2 separate regions of the Homo sapiens genome follow, and region 1 is linked to region 2. The links are contacts of gene promoters, found by promoter capture Hi-C in human tissues and cell types (Jung and others, 2019). All regions are on one chromosome and are shown on one strand. Each heading gives the region's core, a stretch centred on a gene start or on the middle of the fragment in contact. The rest is flanking DNA. Distances are from core to core; before and after follow the strand shown.

The links. Contacts are between HindIII fragments. The study calls those that stand out against the background at their distance.
Region 1: a fragment that was not itself captured here is called in contact with the fragment with the promoter of KEL in region 2 in 2 of the 25 tissues and cell types used here (spleen and thymus).

What each region holds. Positions count from the first base shown.
Region 1 is chr7:142,814,431-142,817,838 of GRCh38, reverse strand. LOC105375541 (a long non-coding RNA gene) reads right to left here. Exons shown (of 2, transcript XR_001745392.2): 1 at 1,714-3,408; 2 at 403-1,083. Among named protein-coding and RNA genes, the nearest start is that of EPHB6, 39 kb to the left of the region's middle. The HindIII fragment of the contact is 4,106 bases long and covers 29-3,408 here.
Region 2 is chr7:142,960,507-142,963,807 of GRCh38, reverse strand. KEL (Kell metallo-endopeptidase (Kell blood group)) reads left to right here and starts at 1,445. Exons shown (of 19, transcript NM_000420.3): 1 at 1,445-1,604; 2 at 1,936-2,013; 3 at 2,307-2,448; 4 at 2,704-2,880. The coding sequence starts at 1,602. RefSeq lists a silencer at 1,486-1,681. The HindIII fragment of the contact is 18,554 bases long and covers 1-3,301 here.

The sequences.
Region 1 (3,408 bases), core at 832-3,331, 150 kb after region 2:
ATTGAATTATACCCACCATCCCCCCAGAAAAAGATATGTTGACATCCCAACCCTCAGTACCTCAGAATGTGACTCTGTTTGAAAATAGGGTCATTGCAAGTGTGACTAGTTAAGATGAGGTCATACTGGAGCACTGTGGACTCCTAATATGACTGATGTACTTGTAAGAAGACAGCCGTGGGAAGACAGAAACACACAGGGAAAATGCCATGTAATGCCAAAGGCAGAGTTTAAAGTTATGTAGCTGCAAGTTAAGGAATGTCAAAATTTGCCAGCAAATCAACAGAAGCTAGGAATAGGCAAGGAAGAATTTCCTTCCAGGTTTCAGAGGAAGCATAGCTCTGTTGATACCTTGATTTTAGACTTCTAGGCTCCAGAACCATGAGACAATAAATTCTGTTGTTTTAAGTCACCCAGTTTGTGGTACTTTATTACAGCAGCTCAAGGAGAATTACAAAGTGGATGGATTGAGTACAAGTTCCTTCATCGTAAGTGGAAGCAGAAGTTCCTAACTCTTTTAGTATTTGTCATCTGAACTACTTTTCTATCTTTTACCTCCTCCAATAGATAAGTTATTAGAAGGCAAATATTGCTTCTTGATTTTTTGTTTTCCGTCTATCTAAGCTTGAATTTTATGTGCACGTAAGGTAGATGTGAAATTCATGGGCATCAAATATGGGTGGGTAAAATATAATTTTGTTTTCTATAATTAAAATTATTCTATATCTAGATCCTTGTTGCATTGGGGTACACATGATTAATTCAGGGGTTTCTCAGACAATTCATGCTTGTCTCCCTTTCCTTTTCTCCCCGGGTAGTGTCTAAATTCCAGGGTGCTTATAAAAGCGCTTGTCAAAGCATTGTGGGGAAGGTACTTGGTCTTTGGTCATCATTTAACTTTCCTTCATGACTCTCATTTGCACCATCATCAGCACCTGTCCCCACTGATATCTGCTGATCCTCGGTGTGTCTGTCTGTCTGTCCTTCAGGTTGTTTTGATCCACGGCGGGTACACTGTGCCTTACACATTTCAAACACGATGTCTCTTCAGGCTTGATGGCTTCTCTCAGTTAATCTGTTTCCCTGTGAATGAGAAAATGGCTATTCCTGATCTATCCTGAGATCTTTGGGGATTCTTGGAGACTACCTCAGGTCCCTCTGTTAAGACACATTCTAGAGCCATGTATGTTTTCCACTGCTGCTCTAATAAATTACTACAGACTTAGTGGCTTAAAACAACACAAACTTATTATCTTACAGTTCTGTAACTCTGAAGTCTGACACAGGTTTCACCGAGTTAAAATCAAGCTGTCAGCTAGGCTGCATTCTTCCCTGAGGGCTCTAGAAGAGAACCCATTTCCTTACCTTTCCTAGCTTCTAGAGGCCACCTTCATTCCTTAGCTCATGCCCCCTTCTACCTCCAGGGCCAGCAGCATGGCATCTCTCTTGCCTGCTTCCATGTCCACATCTCTTTCTTTGACTCTCTTCTGCTTCCTTCTTCCATGTTGAAGATGCTTGTGATTGTATGGGGCACACCTGATTAATTCTGACTACTCTCCCTGTTCTAAGGGCATCCAATTAGAAACCTTAATTCCATCTTCAACCTTAATTCCCCTTTGCCATGTAATCTAACACATGCACAGATTCTGGGGATTAGAATGTGGACATCCTTGGGAGCCATTATTCTGCTGACCACAAGTCATTTCTACTTACCAGTCTCTAGCCAGTATGACATGTAGGGACCCAGGACCTTGTTCGTCTCATTCTGGAAATAAGCACAATTTTCCTCTGCCGTCAAAACTTTTGAATTTCCATTTCTTCTCTCTCCACCTCTCTCTCATCCCTTTCCTTGATCAGGATGTGGATAAGAAGAGGTAAGTCACAATTCAGGGCATTCAGGAGCATCTAATTGGCTGACTCTCCCTTCTTTCCATTAGCCCAGGTAATTTTTAACTCTTCTGTAGAGGAACAAATAGGCTTTGCAAGTATCTTCCATTCCTATTATATAGGAATATATACCAGTTTTAAAATTAAAAAGACGAGTTAGTTCTTATTGCCATTCTCTTCATGTATAAAGCTTTCTCTTGTTGGCAGCAATTCATTAAGAATCTAGTATGGAGGGAAAAAGCTGAAGATGGTAACAAAAAGACTTGAAAAGAGGCTTGCCAGAGAGGTGGACACGTTAAGATGACCAGGACATGTTAAGATGACAGTTCCAGCCAGCTTTCAATTCCGTAGGGCACCTCCAGACCCAGGCCAGATGTGCGGCCAGGACTCTCCCATTAGTAGATCTACTGCCACAGAGCAGAGGGATCATATCCCCATCCTCTTTTCAATACATGAATGACTTAAATGATTGAATAACTAAACAGTATTGCAGATGGGGATGGAGATTGAGGAGATTTTTTTAAAGGCATCAGCCATATGGAAGGAGCTTCCAGCTACTGAGCTGTGACAATGATCAGGAGCCAGGAGCCAGCTGGTTACTCTGATCTGACTGATACATCTCTTCACCCTCCAATCTGCTGCAGCATCTCTAAGAAGGAGGATTACATTGCTGTCTACATGTGGTAATGACACTGAGCTGATGCAGCTGATGAGTGAAGTCAGGTCTCATAGGATACGCTGGTGTTAAAGACTGCCAGCCAGAGGAAAACGTGATGCGGTACCCTTGAGAACAAGAGCAATTCTCATTCTTTCTCCCTGTATCTCCCACCACCCACTGTCCACTTTCTCTCCACCCCATCCCCACTCAGGACTAAATAAAAATTTCAAAAGCAAAGAGGAAAGAGAACAGAAATGGAAAGAAAGGGAGGAATAGGCTATGTGTGCACATATTTATTTTGGCTTCACTCTCTGCAATCCTAACATGCACAGATATTATATTATCAGATTTATTAAAAACTGAGATTGAACAACTGTTCAATGAAAACTGCTCTTGCGTTGGCTATAGCTATTTTTCATCATATGTTCCAAATGTTCACTGCAAGCAAACTATATTTACCACTTGATTTATCATTTAAATAAATGTTATAAGAGGATTAATTCCATTTTGAAATGATAAAAAACAAAACATTCCCCTATACATATGGTGTATTCAAATGCAAACAAAAAAATGTGCTACAGCCAAAACTGTCAGAAGCAAGAACCCCAACATTAACTTGGAATTGTGTTACTGTAGCATCAGCAACAACAACAAACATATGACATCACTAGGCCCTGATGAAATGGGAAAGTGTTACAAATGCTTTATTTGCTTAAAGCTTATTCTCCCTGTTCAGCCACTTTTACGGCTTTCTTTCCTGGGTTTTCATCTCAAACCGCTCCACCACATCCAACCCAAACTAAGTAATTGTTCTGAATATGAATCCTTCAGAATACAGAGCATGGCAAAGACAGAGGGAAGAG
Region 2 (3,301 bases), core at 196-2,695:
TATGAAGTTCTGACTTTTCTTTATGACTTTCATGATACCCGACCAGCTGGCCCCAGGGGGCACAATGGCTTTACTCCACTTCTCCACACCCACCCTCATCCTGGCAAGTGCACCATGGCCCTAGCACAGTGCTGATGGAATCTGGAAATATCGCCAGGGGATCATTTGCAAGACTAACCTAATAAATTACATTATTTTTTTCCTGGGATGAGGAAACAAGGACAGAGTTGAAACACCTTCCCCCAGAAATGTGCTTGCCTCTCTCAGACCACAGGTAAGGGCTTAATATGATGTGAGAAAGAGGATTTCTGGCTTGGAATGCAATTCATTTCTATTAACATTTAGAAAGCATCTTGGGTGGGCAGGAATGAAAACCAGACACTGTACATGCTATGACATAGTTTTCAATCACTAAGGAGATGAAGAGGCAAGCTATCAGTGTAACAGAAAGCAGAATGAAAGAAAGAGGGGCTCAGTAAAGCCTTATTCTTTTGTAGAAGGCATGAGATCCTATGAGGTAGGCATAGGCAAGTATTACCCTCATTTTCCAGATGACAAAACTTGCTTACCTGCCTCAGAGTTTAAGTGGCTTGTTTATTGTCACAGAGCTAATAATTAGCAGATTAGGGTCTCCTAGCTGGGTGATCTTTTGAATGCATGACTTTGCCAGCAGCCAGCAGAGCTATGAAACACCGAGAGAAACAATTAAGCATGCTTGGGAACAGTGTGAATGGGCATGGAGCTGGGAGGCCTCCTGGGAAAGGTGGCATTTGACCTGGGAATTGATGAATCCCAGAAAAGCCAATCAGAGAGGTGTGAAAACAAAATTAAAATGGAGACTGGGCCTGAAAAATTCCCAGGCAAACAAAGCCAAAGACCTTAAAAATAGCCATATTCTTGCTAAAACTACAAACATAAATTAAACTTAACTTGGGTCAATTTCTGATAAATGCTTACAACAAATAAAACTTAACCCCAGCCAATGATAAGCAGCCAACTAACATATGATTATGTGACTAGGGACTTTCCAAAAAGTTACCTAAAAAATGCAATTATGTAACTGCAAACTAAGCAAATAATGTTTCATTTTGCTTCTATAACTTCCCAATAAATGCTTGCCTCTGACATTTTGTCATCGCAACACTAAACCTTTGTCGGTCTGGTGCTCCCCAATTCATGAATTGCTTCTTACTTAAATAAACTCTTTAAAATTTTACTGTGCCTCATATTTTTTTTAATACAGAAGAAATGAGAGAAGGAAGAATATTTTAGAAATAAAGGAACTTCATGGGCAGAGTCACAGTGCAAGACAAAAGGAGCAGACCAAGGGCAAGATTGCTTGGGGAGTGAAGACTCCCTCCCTCTTCTCCCCTGAGAAGCTGAGATAAAGGGGGAGGAGAAGCCTGGGTGCCCCCCACTGATAAGCAGGCTCCACCCAGAGGCCAGTCCTGTGTGTCTGGGGACAAGGCGAAAGAGCAGCAGAAGTGCCCCTTCTCCAGGATCAAGGAACTGGGGCGGGGGGTGTTTCCTGGACCCCAGTCCTCCGAATCAGCTCCTAGAGTGGAACCAGGAAGGATTCTGGAGCCACAGAAGATAGACAGATGGTAAGTCCCCTTTTGGAGTCAGAGGCTTAGCGGGGAGGGGTGAGGGTGGCTGTGTGCAAAAGTCCTGCCCCCACTGGAGGGGAGGGAATGTAAGGCTTACAGAGTAGAAAGGTGGGGAGAGAGGGAGGTAATGGGAGAGGGATCGAGAAATGGCACATTCAGGGGACAGGTTCGTTCTGAAGCCCATCTGGGAACACTGCTCCGAGATAAAAATATGTGTGTGGGGGCAGGGCAGGCAGCGAGGGTATCAAAATGGCCTGATAAAACTCTCTTCAATGCACCATTTCCTGAACCAGCTTCTCTCTCCTCCTTCTCCCTCCACTCACTTCAGGAAGGTGGGGACCAAAGTGAGGAAGAGCCGAGGGAACGCAGCCAGGCAGGTGGAATGGGAACTCTCTGGAGCCAAGAGGTAAGTGGCCTCCTCTCCTGGGTCTGGAATACACTGATGTTGTCACTCTCGGCTCTAAAATCCCACAAACACTCATCTACTAACTGTCTGCTTCATCCTCACCCAAAACAGTTGACATTCCTTGTTTTCTCATCTCCCAGGAGTTAAAGTAGGGCTGGGTTTAGGAAGAATTGGGATAATTATTTCTGTATAAAGGGACTGTAGCACCAACAGATTCATTCTCTCTCCTCTTCTTCCCATCCCTGTCTCTCAACCCCCATCTTGTATCTTTCACCTCTTGGTTCCTCCCACAGAGCACTCCAGAAGAGAGGCTGCCCGTGGAAGGGAGCAGGCCATGGGCAGTGGCCAGGCGGGTGCTGACAGCTATCCTGATTTTGGGCCTGCTCCTTTGTTTTTCTGTGCTTTTGTTCTACAACTTCCAGAACTGTGGCCCTCGTAAGCAAGATCCCAGACCCCCTAACCTAGTCAGCCCTCCCCCAGCCCTGGGGCCCAGGCCCAGTCCCTGCTCCTGGGGCTTCTGCCCACCCTGACCCTTGGGGTCCCCATGGTTCTTCTTCCTCCCTGCATCCTAACCATTTCTTTTTCATCAGCTCCCCACTTAGTTACTCACCTGATGTTCTTTGCCTAGCCCCTTGGGGGAGCCCTTGTCTTTTTGCCTCTTCTTTCCCAGCTCTGAGCTTTTCCCCACAGGCCCCTGTGAGACATCTGTGTGTTTGGATCTCCGGGATCATTACCTGGCCTCTGGGAACACAAGTGTGGCCCCCTGCACCGACTTCTTCAGCTTTGCCTGTGGAAGGGCCAAAGAGACCAATAATTCTTTTCAGGAGCTTGCCACAAAGAACAAAAACCGACTTCGGAGAATACTGGGTGAGGAAAGCAGGGTGGAAGATGCTCTGTGCAAGTGGGTGACTCTGTGCCTAAAATGACCATGACTGCTCCAAACCCTGTGTAGTTGTGGAACAACTGATTTGCACCATCCCAGGTGGGATTATACGGGTGGATGATTGGAGATGATGGGGGAGTAAAAGAGGCAGGATGGCGGGAGCTGCCTGGGTTTGCTCATCTCTCACTGTTTCCTGTTGCCTTGCCTTGGGTACCCTTCTTCCGTTTCTCTTGGTCCCTTTCTGCATTTTTTTCTTTATCTAATTTCCATCTTCTTTGCTTCTCCATGTATCCATAATTACTCCATTCTCTCCAACTTGTCCCTTTTAGCAAGCTCCATCTTTGTTGCTTCCTCCAAATGTTCAGTTTCTATCCTATGCATGGTGTTTTCCTCCACAAGCATCTC